4 separate regions of the Homo sapiens genome follow, and regions 1, 2 and 3 are each linked to region 4. Evidence: promoter capture Hi-C in 16 types of primary human blood cells and fetal thymus (Javierre and others, 2016). All regions are on one chromosome and are shown on one strand. The core of a region is centred on a gene start or on the middle of the fragment in contact, and the rest is flanking DNA. Distances in the headings are between cores, read along the strand shown. Region 1 overlaps LINC01934 (long intergenic non-protein coding RNA 1934). Region 2 overlaps LINC01934 (long intergenic non-protein coding RNA 1934). Region 3 overlaps LINC01934 (long intergenic non-protein coding RNA 1934). Region 4 holds the start of ITGA4 (integrin subunit alpha 4).

What was found. Contacts are between HindIII fragments. The CHiCAGO score rates a contact against its expected background, and 5 or more counts as called.
Region 1: a fragment that was not itself captured here is called in contact with the fragment with the promoter of ITGA4 in region 4 in 14 of 17 cell types (total CD4 T cells, total CD8 T cells, naive CD8 T cells and 11 more); the score reaches 14.4 in total CD4 T cells.
Region 2: a contact is called between a fragment that was not itself captured here and the fragment with the promoter of ITGA4 in region 4, in 7 of 17 cell types (naive CD8 T cells, total CD8 T cells, total CD4 T cells and 4 more). The highest score is 11.4, in naive CD8 T cells.
Region 3: a contact is called between a fragment that was not itself captured here and the fragment with the promoter of ITGA4 in region 4, in 10 of 17 cell types (naive CD8 T cells, total CD8 T cells, erythroblasts and 7 more). The highest score is 14.9, in naive CD8 T cells.

What each region holds. Positions count from the first base shown.
Region 1 is chr2:181,253,165-181,256,538 of GRCh38, reverse strand. All of the region lies in intron 2 of LINC01934 (long intergenic non-protein coding RNA 1934), which reads right to left. Among named protein-coding and RNA genes, the nearest start is that of MIR4437, 51 kb to the left of the region's middle. The HindIII fragment of the contact is 6,744 bases long and covers 1-3,374 here.
Region 2 is chr2:181,212,564-181,216,082 of GRCh38, reverse strand. All of the region lies in intron 1 of LINC01934 (long intergenic non-protein coding RNA 1934), which reads right to left. Among named protein-coding and RNA genes, the nearest start is that of LINC01934, 90 kb to the right of the region's middle. The HindIII fragment of the contact is 8,503 bases long and covers 1-3,519 here.
Region 3 is chr2:181,323,130-181,326,434 of GRCh38, reverse strand. The region is part of intron 3 of LINC01934 (long intergenic non-protein coding RNA 1934); the gene reads right to left. Among named protein-coding and RNA genes, the nearest start is that of MIR4437, 19 kb to the right of the region's middle. The HindIII fragment of the contact is 1,719 bases long and covers 835-2,553 here.
Region 4 is chr2:181,455,193-181,458,732 of GRCh38, reverse strand. ITGA4 (integrin subunit alpha 4) reads right to left here and starts at 1,347. Exons shown (of 28, transcript NM_000885.6): 1 at 882-1,347; 2 at 416-537. The coding sequence starts at 1,078. RefSeq lists enhancers at 301-350, 711-760, 821-1,010, 1,731-1,840 and a silencer at 1,161-1,550. The HindIII fragment of the contact is 9,740 bases long and covers 1-3,540 here.

The DNA of each region.
Region 1 (3,374 bases), core at 802-3,301, 200 kb after region 4:
ATCTGGGTCTGAACCAATATTTGATTCAACTACATTTCAGCATGATAAAATGAATGTGGAGTGCCCCGGGTGTTTGTAGTACTAGGGGGATATGAAATGATTAATGCAGCCTGCTAACTATACCAATTTATTATTTTAGTCAGGCAAAAGAGCTATATGACTTGGTTTCAAAACAAATTGATTATTTAGGGTTACCTGAGACTGTTTTAAGTATTTGTAAAGAGAGTAATAGTAGTGAAAACTCACGTGCATATTGTAAACTGATTAACCATGTATCTCATTTCACGACTGATTAAAGCTGTGTCTACAGGCGTGTCTGTTGAGAAATTTCAAAAAACATTTCCAGCTATCAGTGCTATCCTTCTAAATGGCAGTACTATTGGCAGAGATAAGAAAAATTGGTTCTTTGTACCAGAACTGAGATAAAACATTCTAAGTCTGACGAAGATAAACTAAAGGAACCATTTGGCCCCATTCATAAAGGCATGAACCCCTTTACTATTGGATTTTGTAATTTACCATACCATATGGCATTGGCTGTTTTGGAAATGAGAGTTCAGAGTACATGGAACATTGGTGTGATGCATTGTAGCTATGTGTGTTCTTGCCTTATACTCTGCTGAAGCATTCTTTCTCTGTACTAATTTTAAAGAAACATTATGCAATTTGCTGTCAAATTTATACAGAACTGTTGAAGTGTTGTGTCATTTCAGTCAAAATTAGATTGCATAAATTCAGAAACCCTAATCTGAGATCGTTCAATTTCCCAGATTACTAGATTTACATATTAATAACTCCTAGGGTATATTTCTTTTCACCAGCTCTAATTTCAACCAGAATTTATGGGTTGGGCTCTTTTAAAATCCAAATGCAATGGCCAAGTGCTTAAAGCCTGGACAGTTGCCACACTGTCACAGAGCCCCTCAGCAGAAACAAGTCTAGAAAGCTGGGGCTTTTATTTCATTCTGTTTTCTCCCACAGGATGGTTCTTACCACATTAAATAATACATACTCACATACTATATACTACCAGCAATACTCCAATGCCAAATGATGTATAAAAGAGTGTATTTATGGCCTGTTGATTCAAAATGTGTTTGCTTTTCTAGTCACATTCATCTTTATCATGACATATACTTAAACATAAGAAAATCAGAATGTTTCTCCTTGGGTCCAACTTGCCAATTTCTATAATGTCTATGAATTGACAACTTTTTAAAAGTAAAATTTGGTGTGTGGGTGTATGTGTGTTCTGAGCAATGAATTTTGGGTGTTCTGCCTCCTCTCAAACAACAGGATCTCCTGCAGAAGGAAAGAGTTAGTGCAGAAGATTTTGATTCACTGAAAGCATGCTTATTTCCTTGGTATCTGGGAAAGCAAGCATTGTTTGGTGGTATATTCCTCAATTCAATAAAGAGAGTTTTTATTCCCATGTACATATGTAACGGTCAATTAAAGAACTATTCCAAAGGCTGTAGTAGGTTGGGTTTTAATTCCAAACTCTCTTGCCTTTATTTAACAGTAAAACAAATGGGAGTATGTTTCCCATTGAATATCATTTTTCAAAGATGATCTCTGCAATGCATAGTTTACTTAGACAATGTTTAATGTAAAATCAGAGAACAAAGTGTCCAACCAGAATACGGCTGAGCTGAGGGACAGAGCCAGAGGCTAAGGGGACTGAACTGAAAATATTATTCTTCCCAAATTTTTCTACATTAAATTATCTGCATAATTTTAAAATGACTACTCTGTGCAAGGCACAATGAAAGCTGCGACAAGGAATGTCCAGATGTAATATCAGTTCCTACATCTTTATCATAGCAAGGAAGGCTCAGACAGGTTCACAATCATAATACAAGGTAGTAAGTGATTGCAGTAGGATAGGTACAAAGAAGCACTGTAAGTTCAGAGATCAGAGGGAGAATCACATTTATTTAAGAAGATAAGAAAAGGCCTTGTGAAATATAAACATGTAAGATGGACTAACTTTTTAATAGGTTGAGAAAGGGGGTGATTTTCTAGGTAGATGGGAAACAAGAACAACACGTGACCAGGGGACATAGGCATGGGACAATTATGTGGACCATCATATAGCCTAGGTGCACTGGGACCTTAGCATACAAAGAGTATACCAAGGGGAGACACTATTAGGACATTACTTGGTAACAATATTCACAATAGTGAATATCGAAGGAGCTTGAAAGCTCTAAGGATTTTTTTTTTCTTTTTTTACTGTTTCTGTTAATCTTGAGGAAGTTTTCAGTGGGGAGCTGATTCCCATTTATTTTGCTGTTAAACAAAGACAGAAGATTTAGAACTAAACCATAGTTTAAAGCTATAGCCTTCGGAAGGGCTTATTAATGTTAAATGCCTACATGAAGAGATAGATTTGGGGAGTGTATCGGGGTAAATTAGGATTTATCATAGTAAAACAGTATATAATCTGGGTTCCAAATTCATAATAACAATCATAATAATAATATAATCACTATATGTTGAGAACTACTCACTATGTGACAAGTGCTTTACATATATTATTTCATTTCATTCTTAAAACTGCCCTATGAGGTGGATACAAAATATCATTTTATAGATGAAGTAACCAACACTCCAAATCCAAGTAAAATAGCTAAGAAGCCAGGTGAAATGGACCAGACTCCATATCCTTGGCCACTACTCTCTTGCCTCTCGTTTGGTCATGAGATAATTCTTCATCCCCCACAGTTGAGAGCCAGTCAAGCATATTTGTCCAAATAGAGCCTCAGAAGGGCCTCACCAAATCAAATTCTTCCTAATTGTAGAGAAGTCTGCGCTAATTGTCCTCTCTGTCTCCACATCCGGGACTACTTGAGAGGGTTGACTGCACAACATGATGGGTATAGCACGGGCTCTGAGGACAAGCTGCAAGGTGCAAATGCTGACCCAACCACATACCACATGTGTTCTTTATTTCTATGTAAGCACAGTTACTTGCAGAGAGACCTATAGTAGGCCAAAGGCAACACATCTAAAACTATGAGTCTTTTTCATTCTTCTAGCCAGGAGATCATAAATCATTTGCAGAATACAAACTAAAGTCCAGTCCTAATTAGAGAAGAGCAGAAACACGATTATCTTTAAAATCCCACTCTTGCATCATGGAAAACTTTCATCTGTTCCATTTTAAATGACAGAACTGTTCTTTTTGGTGGATGCTCCGCAGTTTTGATAACTAGAGAAGAAGTACACGGTGATGTCAATAAGGTAATGCAATGGAGGGGGAAGGGTGGACTGAAGGCTAGTCCAGCAGCTGAAAACTCATGTGCCCCTATTTTAGATGGCTGTTACATTCTCTGCTTTCAATAGCATTTGAAAGTCACAATGTTGTTCTG
Region 2 (3,519 bases), core at 568-3,067, 240 kb after region 4:
TGCAGTGAGCTGAGGTTGCACCACGGCACTCCAGCCTGGGTGACAGAGTGAGACTCTGTCTCAAAAAAAGAAAAGTATATGGTCCATGTAAGTACGTATACTACGTATTATATATGTATATGAGTTAATATCTAAAACATGAGTTTATACATAAAATACACTTTAGTGCAGTGCCTAGCACACAGTAAGAGCTCAATGAATATGTACATATCCAAAAGATCTAATGTATGGTATGATGACCATAGTTAATAATATTGCATTGTACACCAGAAATTTGCTAAGATCATAGATTTTAGGTCCTCTTATCACAAAAATAGTAATTATGTGAGGAAATTGATATGTTAATTTGCTTGACCATAGTAATCATTTCATTATATATATCAAAACATGCTGTATACCTTAAATACACACAATAAAAATATATCCGTCCAGTCATACCAAATGGAGGCTACTGAGCATTATTTAATCTGCCATTACTCAGGATTTTTAGGGATCTATTACTATGGTTATCATTTATTATCAGACATCACTTAATAAATATTTATTGTTTCTATTCTGTGCTTCCCAGAATGTATAGTCTAGCAAAGTCAGTGTTGAGAAAGGAGTATATAAAATATAAGAAATTAAACTTTTTATTAAGGGGCTATATTAGTTCATTTTTTGTTGCTTATAACAGAATACCTGAAATTTACAAAGAAAAGGAATTTACATTTTACAGTTATGGAGATTGAGAAGTCCAAAGTCAAGGGGGCCACATCTGGTGAAGAATCTTCTTGCTGGTGAGGACTCTGCAAAGTCCTGAAATGGCACAGGACATCACATGGCCAGGAGGCAAAGTGTGCTAACATTAGTCCATGAATGGATTAATCTATTCATGAGGCCTGAGTCTTCATGGTCCAATTACTTCTTAAAAACTCCCACCTCTCATTACTGCAACATTGGGGATTAAGTTTAAACATGAGTTTTGGAGGGGACAAATATTCAAACTATAGCAGAAGTCCTCTACTGCAAAATGCTTTGCAGATGAAGTCTCTCATATGAGCTCACTTTCTCCAATATCATTTTTTTGTTTGCTCCTTAAAAGTTCAGCAGAAAAAGGATAATTTTTGTACATCTAGTTTGGATAGACTCTGGCTATGATTTTATTTTACTGTTAACCAAAATGCATAAGTGCTCTCTCTCATGTTTATTTTTAATATATGAATTTGGATAAATTAGCCTGGGGTTAGGTAAATTAAATGGGAAAATATCCCTGATAGAGCTAGCAACAAAAACAATATGTGGTTCTTTGATTCTGTGACTTATTTAATGGATCACAATCAAGTACCAGCTAAAGGCTGGTAATTTAAATTATAAGCAGAGGGGTTCAAAGCTATGGCTAATTCATTACTCACACATCTCTAGTTGAAGTAGTAATTTAAAGTCATGTGTGTCCCATTAATTGTAATCTCGTTTCCAAATGACAAGATAAATATCTCAAGGAACATAATATATTATGGTCATAGGTCAACCCAAATGAATGTCTAAAATAGATTAGCACTAAGTGCATGCAATATGTCATGTTTATAAATTTTAAAAAGGATAAATTGTATTAACATTTAGCAGGTTGTTCATTACACATCATCAATGTTTAGCTTTAAATGCATTAATAGTCTATTCAGTTACATTATTCTTTGAAAATACCACACACAGAGATGCTACAAAATCCATGACTGAAAATCTAATAATTGAGAAAAAAAATAGAACAAGATAATTGTGCCCCTTCCCACCAAGATTTCATTGCTTTGTTTTGCATAAATGTGAAATAGATGTATTTTGGCCCTGAAGTGATTCAAACAAGGGCAATGTTAAAATTATCAAAATGAGAAAATTGCCAAAATGCCAGGTCCCTGCCAATCTCTACTTGTATCTCATTTTAATTTAAGCCTCTGCATCAGCTTAGAATGGGTCAGCACTTCATCCAGAGTCTTAGATTAGAAAACAAAATTGTCACCTAAAACCACATAGCAGAGTAAGTGGAGAATCAGGATGCAGGCTGTTAATTGAGAGTTGGTTTTCTGATTTAGGCTGAAATTAAACTGTTGTGATTTCACATGGATGAACCAGTTTTCCTACCTATAAGCCCTAAAGATCACACGTGAAGTATGACTCTCATCACGTCTACATGTCATTATGCACTGCTGTTAAAATATTTTCCTCCTTAGAATGATCTGAGGAGGAAAATATTTTATAGCACCACATTCTAAGGAGGGAAGCAAGAGGAAGACTCAAAATATATAAAGGGAATTCAAAATACTTGTAAATATAACACAGATTCTTGACTCCTGAAGAACCTGTTACTCAAAGTATTTTCTACATAATACAAATGAAGTTCAAGCGTACATGTAAAAACCAATACTTGTCACCCTAATGTCATTACATCTGAAATAAATGAGCACATTCAAACACTGCACAGAAAAAAATATATTTTCTTACCCTAGAATTCCTGCTCTGAAAGAGCCTCATATTTCTTGGGTGAATATTTTGAAAAAACCATTTAGGGTAGAGTAAGGTACAGTGAAGAAGAAACAGCAAAACAACTAAATCTTGCCCTTGGAAATATTTTGGTTAGCTAGCATAAGTGTTCTTTTTGCTTTTTACTTTTTGTTTGGATGTTTGTTTTGTACTGAATTTGAGTGTCTTTAAAGCAAGGCAGGCAGCCTGGAGTTGTTCAACAGTTTCCTCTACATCCTACTTTCTTATACAATGCCCAATCCCACACCAACATTACCTGTAGACAGTAGTTTTTTAAATAATTTTTAAAATAAAATATTATTATTCATATTTTTTTCCAATTTTATTTCAGTTCAAGGGGTACATGTGAATATTTGTTAGATGGGTAGGTTGCATGTCACTGGGGTCTGGTGTACAGACAATCTAATCACCCAGGTACTATGCTCACTAACATAGTATCTGATAGGTAGTTTTTTGACCCTCACCCTTCCCCCACCCTCCTCCCTCAAGTAGGCCCCAGTGTCTATTGTTCCCCTCTTTGTGTCCATGTGTACACCATATTTAGCTCTCACTTATAAGTGAAAAGTGCAGTATTTAGTTTTCTGCTCCTGTGTTAATTTGCTTAGGATAATGGCCTCCAGTTCCATCCATGATGCTACAAAGCACATGATTTCATTCTTTTTTATGGCTGGGAGGTGTTCTATGGTATATATATACCACGTCTTTATTATCCAGTCCACTGTTGACAGATATCTAGGTTAATTCTATATATTTGCTATTGTGAATAATCCTGCAATGAACATACCTATGCATGCCTTTTTGTAGAATGATGTATATTCCTTTGGGTATATACCCAGTAATGGGATTTCTAGATTGAATAGTAATTTTGTTTTAAGTTCTGTGAAAAATCTCCAAACTGGTTTCCATAGTGGTTAAACTAATTAACATCCACACCAGCAGTGTATAAATTTTCCCTTTTCTCTGGAACCTCACCAACATCTTTAATTTTTTGATTTTAAAAATAAT
Region 3 (3,305 bases), core at 445-2,944, 130 kb after region 4:
GTTTCTCACCTTGCATAATGTGGAATATCAACTGTCAGTTAGTGGATTTTTATTTAACATTGTCAAGGGCTAAGATAGTTCTGACTTCTGTATAAATAATCTTTCAATAAAAGGCTTATAATTTCATTGATCTCAGCTGTGTCAGAGGCAAGAAAAAAGCACTTCCCTATAAGAAGTACAGGAAGAGTGCCAAAACTCTCACTTTAGAAATTGAAAAAGCAATGATCTTTTAAATAATTTGGAAGATGTGTTAATATAAATATCTGGTAAGATTTTGTCATGGAATTTGACATGTTATAAAGGACAGGTAAGAGAGTGTAGACCAGCACTGTTTTTTAAAAATATGTTTTGAAAAGAACTATGTATTTAACTATAAAATCATTGATTATATATTATTTCACCAGATCCACAGAGATCAAAATTATAAAGAAAGAAGGCATATAATGGAAATAAAGTGAAATGTGAAGGGCTGAAATCTGAAGGGCTGAAATATGACCCAGTAAGGTTTCCCTTTAGATGTTCAATTGATCATTTCAGATTGGTCATTTCTTGCTCAGTATTGAACAAGATATTCAAAAATTTGACTATTACCACTGAATATAACAAAATCTTATTAAGCACATCTATGTTACTGAAATGCTGTGGGGCACTAATATTAATCAGACATGGTATCTCAGCCCTGAATCAGCTCAAAATTGAATGGGAGAGAAACAAATGTAAAGAAATGAATGGCGTAAAATGTAATGATTGTTACATTTTGGGCATTTACAGGGTACAAGCAGGAGTAATAATGACTGGAAAGACTTCATAAGCAGATGATGCTTGAACTAAGCTTTGGAAGAGGAGTAGAATTTTTTTTTTCACAGGAAACAATGAGGCCAAGAGCATTCCAAGAAGTGGGGAACATACAAATAAAGGCATAGAGAGAGAAAAGAGCCTGGTTATGTTTAAAGAATGTGAGTAACTAAATACATTGGTGAGCAGGGCATCAGCATGAGACCAGCAAAGAGAATGCTGAAGATTTAGGTAGGATTCAGCTCATGGAGAGCTTATATACTATGCTTATGAATTTAAACTTTATGAAGTGAAGACCCTTTTGTTTCCTCAAACAGGTATTTACTAAGGTAAAATGTTTATATTTCTACAGAATTCAAAACTCACAGATCACATACACATGTGCCAATAAGTTATCTATAAAATCTAAGCATCTTTGAAACATGGTTGTGAATATTTTAAAGTAATCCTATAACATTGTTGATGGTGATGATGATGATATCTTGGATTTTTTTGCACTTTTATTCTAAAAAACTAAAAATTCTGTCACATCAACAAAAAATATCTGAAACATAAGAATAAGAATATTATATCTTTTAGAAATTAATCACTTTCTGTGACTCTGTGGAAAGCAAAGTCTAACAAGGTCTCACTTATTAGCTATGTGATCTTGATGAAATTTACTTAACATCCATATGCCTGTTTTTTCACAGGCTGGTTGTATCTATTAAGGAACTTAACTGTGTCTGACACCAGGGAACAAGATTAATAAACCACATATCTAAATGAAAACCACATACCTAAATTAAATATGGCTAAATATAGCAAAGATGGGACCAAATGGAATAAAATATTACTGATCTTCTTAAGAGAATAATGAATTGTGACTGAAAGTAATGAAATATATTTTGGCAAAACCAATTAGGTACTCATTGAAATATCTAGATTAGGAGGGATGAGAGCTGACATGAGGGCAGGCCATGGGGGAGATAAGAACCACCAACCTTGGAGAACTTTTCCTTTTGGTGTGGATCAATAGCTTTCTTAAACTCCCTATCGGAGCTAGGAGAAGAGAAATGCATGACCCCCATCCAACTCAAAGCCAGGAGTGGCATAGCTTCTCTTGACTTGGATTCTCAATATTGTGAAGGGTCCAGCTTATATTAAGAGACTCTTTCTAAAGCCTCTAATATGAAGAAGTGGGGACTAAATTGTAAGGCTATGAAAGAAAATTGACCAACCCCCTACCTGAAGGTATGTTTTCTTTGTTTTAAATAAATACTAATCAGAGGTGGCTGCCACAAAAATAGAGGAAGCCCATTTTGTACCAATTTTCTTTGCTTAGTGTGTGTATCTCTTCTCATCTCCAATCTACATTGACTCCTACATGTTTTTAATTATCATCTATATATGCTGATGTCTCCCAAATTTATATCTGCTGGTCTCACCTCTACTCTGAACTTAACTTGTAAATGCCAATGCCCACTCAGCATCTTCACCTGATGTCTAATAAGCATCTGAAATCAGCAGATTTTAAACTCAACTCTTGATTCCAGTTCCTTCCCCAATGTGTCCTTCTCTCTAAGTTTCCCTCACTAGAGACTGATAACAAAAATCTCATGAGCTGTCTTGGAGTTTTCTCTTTATCTCATACTCTACATCTAACCCATCAACAAATATTGCTTACTTTACCTTGAAAAGGTATCAGAATCTGACCACACCTAATCACTTCCATTTCTACCACTTTCTTTCAAGCCTCTGTTATCTATTACCTAAGCTTCTGTGATAGATTTTCTACTGGCTTCTCTTCTCCACTCTCACCCACACTATTGACGAAGGAACCCTTTCAAACACAAATATCGTTATTTCCCTATTCAAAAGTTTCAAATCGCTTTGCATCTCAAGGTAACATCCGAAGTCCTTGCCATGACCTCCAAGGCTAGACATGATCAGGTGCTGGGCCACTTCTCCCAGCTCCTTTCCAACTACTCTTTTCATCACTCACTCTTGGCTTTCTCACAGTTCTCTTTGTTCGGGGATGAAAGAATAAATTCGTTCAGGGAGAACAATCAAGAATTTGGTTATGGATGCATTGATTGTAAGGCACTTTTGACAGTTACTTGAGATGTCAAGAAGGCAGTTGCAAGTATGAATCTGGAGTCCTGGGGTGGGGAGAGAGGAGGCCTGGGACTAGAGTTGTCTATTTGCAAGTCATTTGTTTATAGTGTCATTTGAAACTCTTGGCATAAATGTCCCAGAGAGAGGAAATAAGGGACCTAGGGTTAACCCTTGAGGAATTACACACATCTAGGTCTGGTGGAGGAGGATGGCATTATAAAAAGGACTGAGAAGCAGCCTCCCAGAGGTAAAAGGAAAATCCAGGGAGTAATGTGGCAGAAGCCCAGGGAGGTGAGAAATGAAGACAGCTAGAATTGACAATTCTTTCTAGAAAAGTAGTAGTGAGAAGGAGATGAAGCAGTTGCAGGACAGGGATGTATAGTCAAGTGAAGAAGTTTCTTTTTATGGATAAA
Region 4 (3,540 bases), core at 98-2,597:
TTCCTGATATGCTCCTTAGCCTGTTCTTTAAGAGGGTTGATAGGTCAAAGATGGAAATAAAATTCTCAAGTCTTGGCTTAGCTGGATCCTGTCCTTAATACGCTGAGAGAGTCTAAAATGTGCTTTACACACGGAGAGACGGGGAGAGATGAAGAGAAGGTATCATAAGAAATTTCTCTAGCATAGTTGTCAGAGTACTGCAATCATTGCCATAAGGAAAAGGGAGAACGATATTAACAGAAAGGGAATCCCTTTTATATTAAGGAGGCAAGATGAGATGGAGTTGAAACTGAAAACTTTATGCTCTTTAAACCAGAAGTAACAGGCAACGTGAATCTTTCCAGGACTTGCCCTATGGTGGGGTCCACATGGGGGGTCGGGAGGTCACTAACTCCTGGTCCCATACCCAACTCACCCAGCTGGAGCTGTTCGCACGTCTGGCCGGGATTCTTTCCGATCCTGCATCTGTAAATCGCCCCGGGATTGATCACTGAAGCGTTGGCGAGCCAGTTGGCAGTGGGCGCACCCACTAGGAGCCTAAAGCGAGACACGTGCACGTGCGCTCAGACGTGAGCTGTGCTGCCCACTGAGCTCCCTGTCGCCACAGATGTGCAGTCCGCAGCAGGGCAGCTTCCCCACCTCCTCCTCCGCCCACCACCCCCGACTCGAAGCTCCAAGACCTTGCACCATAACGCACCCGGGGCGCTGCCGCCCCAAGATAAGTTAGTTTCCCTGGCAGATTTCCAGCGAGCTGGCTCTCGCAGCGTTTCCCTCCTGCCTCCTTGGGAGGGAGGAAAGTTTGAATCGGGCAGGGAATCCCTAGGGCGCCATTCTCACGCCGCTCTGAGCTGCTGAGGGCGCATCAGTCCAACTCTACTCACCATCGGTTCGCCCCGTGGCTGTGCAGCACGACCGAGTAGCCGAACAGCGTGTTGTGGGGGCCCTGGTAAAGCAGCGCGCTCTCAGTGTCCACGTTGTAGGGGCGGCCGGTCGGGACCCCCAGGCACAGCAACAGCATCACCGTCTCCCGGACGGCGGCCCTTCGGGGGCCGGGTTCGCGCCTCGCTTCCCAAGCCATGCGCTCTCGGTGGGGAACATTCAACACTAAACGGCCACTACCCCAAAGTTGCACGGGATGCGACGGTTGGCCAACGGGGAAGAACGCCCCAAGAGATGAGGCGCAGCGTGTCCGGCGCCAGCGGGCTAAAGGAAGGAGAGAGGGAAGAGGAGGGGAAGTCGGCCCACCGCGGGCGGAGCGTTCGGGCCGGCCTGGGATGCCGCGCACTCGCCCGGCCCCACTCCCGGTTTCTGCCGCCAGCCGGGAGCTTCGGGTGCTCGCGCTGCTTCTCCGGGTACGGGCCGCTGGGTGGGGTCCCGGGCGTGGTGCGGAGGCGCAGGGCCGGGCTCCGTCTCTGCCTACGCGCGGCTGCAGGGGGCGCTGGGGAACCTCGGCTGCGCAGGACTCGCGTCCTGGCCCGGGCCTCCCAGCCCGCAGAGCGCGGGATGGCTCTGGGCTCAGCAAGAGCGGACCTGATGGGGCACGGGCTTCCCCTTTTAACGGTGGTTGGGGCCTAGAAGCGGAGCTGTGTGACCCCAAACTGCGCGCCCCTCGCTGTGACCGCCCAGCCCGGCGTGGCCCAAATGCCAGCCACAAACTCGGGGAGTGGGACTGCGGCGGGGAGCCGTCCAGTTCTTTCGTTGATAGTTAAACACTGTGTCTTGTTTTTCAGGTGTAGGCAACCACTAGATAAATTATCAAGAGCCACAGATTAAAAACAAAAAACCAAACAAAAAGACTCGCCGAAGGCCCCTGGGGAACATTTTAGTGACAAAGACGTTATGGCTATTCTCTTCAAGACCCACATCTCAGCACCCTTCTATACCCACTTCCTTCCTCCCCACACTTCCTCTGCAGCCCGGGCTGCATGCGTGAGCAGGCTAGCAGCAGCCTCTCAGGCTGAACGGCAGGCGGTTTAGGCTGTGGCTGACCCCAACAGAGAGGTTGGGTTAAGGAAGCACTGTGACTTGATTCACTTTAACCGATTCGGATTGCTCCAGCTGGTAATTGATGATCCCCCCTTTTCACGCACCCACTCAGTTGCCACGGGACACACCTGCTTTTAGGGGTGTAAACCCCAGTGTGGGGTCAGGGTCCTAATGAGCCTCTGAAATGTGCCGGAGACCCACAACGCAACACACCTGAACTGGGTAGTGAGTCTCATTCTAATGCAATCCAGGTGTGCCCTGCCTTTTTTTTTTTTTTCCTTCAGCAACCAGAGAGACAGCCATAGGTGATTATTAGACTGATATTTTCAGGAGATGAAAGTCTAGTTTTTTATTGTTGCTATATGTAAAAAGAAAAGAAAAGTCTGCATCAAAGAGTGTGTCTGTGTGCTAAAACCATGCTGGAATAAATAACACATCTGACACTAATGACAGATACACAATTAAAATGCTTATTCATTTATTCAGCACATTCATGGAGCAGGCACTTGACTAGGACCACAGGATTCCACCAAGAGTAAGGCAGGACTGATACAAAGTTTCAAAAAATGTTCGCTCCAATGGTAGATAGAAAAATTTGTACTAACTAGAGAAAGATCCAGGTAAGGACACTTAAAGAGAGATTTGAAGGACCAGGAATCTTGAATCAGGCTAAGAATGGGATGAGCAATAAGGAGGGCTCCAGAGGAGCCAGGTAGAAGAACTGAGAGAGCTTGCCTGGCTAGAGTATTTAGCCACTCCACACACAGGTTGGTGTGATATGAGGCTGACTTAGGGAAGCAGGAATACATGGTGAACCTCATGAGCCAGGTTAGGAATTTTAAATCTATGTTGGGACTGACAGGAAGTTGAAGAATTTGTCTCGGTCAGCTCTGGGTTTCAGAAGTGTGAATGCAAGACTGAACACAGAAAACCTAATTTTGGAAGCCCCTGCAGCAATAAGTAGAGATAGGATAATCCCAAGGGGAAGTATTTCTCTTTCTTGAAAGAGAATGGTGCTACCATTCATGGAGAAAAAAACACTGAGAAATGAAGTTATATGCATGTATGTGTGCATGCAGATGGGGGCATGGATGGGTTAAGTTTTAGCCATGTGGAGTTTGAGATGTTTATGGAATGACAGGATATTCTAGCCAAACTCAATGCAATTATTTTCAGTCTGTCAACAGACAAAACATGAGGAATATTAACTTTCTCTTACTCTATACTGGAAAAAGTCAATACAGTGTGTGATAAATCTATTGTAAAAATGAAATGGCTTCCAGAAAGCTAACAATCAGGGCCCATGGCTGTTTCTTTCTGTAGTAGTGCTGAGTGTGTTTCTTTCTTAGTAGATCTACATGCTGATTTTAACCCAGTTCCACAATGAGCTTACAGTGTCGTTATTCTGAACTATGCAATCCTTCTTGTTTACAGCTACAAAACCTCCAGTTGAGGCCAAGGAAGTAGGTATGTTGAAGCCATTCTGACACCCTCCAGAAACTGGCAAAGCCAGATCTTCTGATCTGAACCCCTACCAGTTTCTTTCCCTCCCTT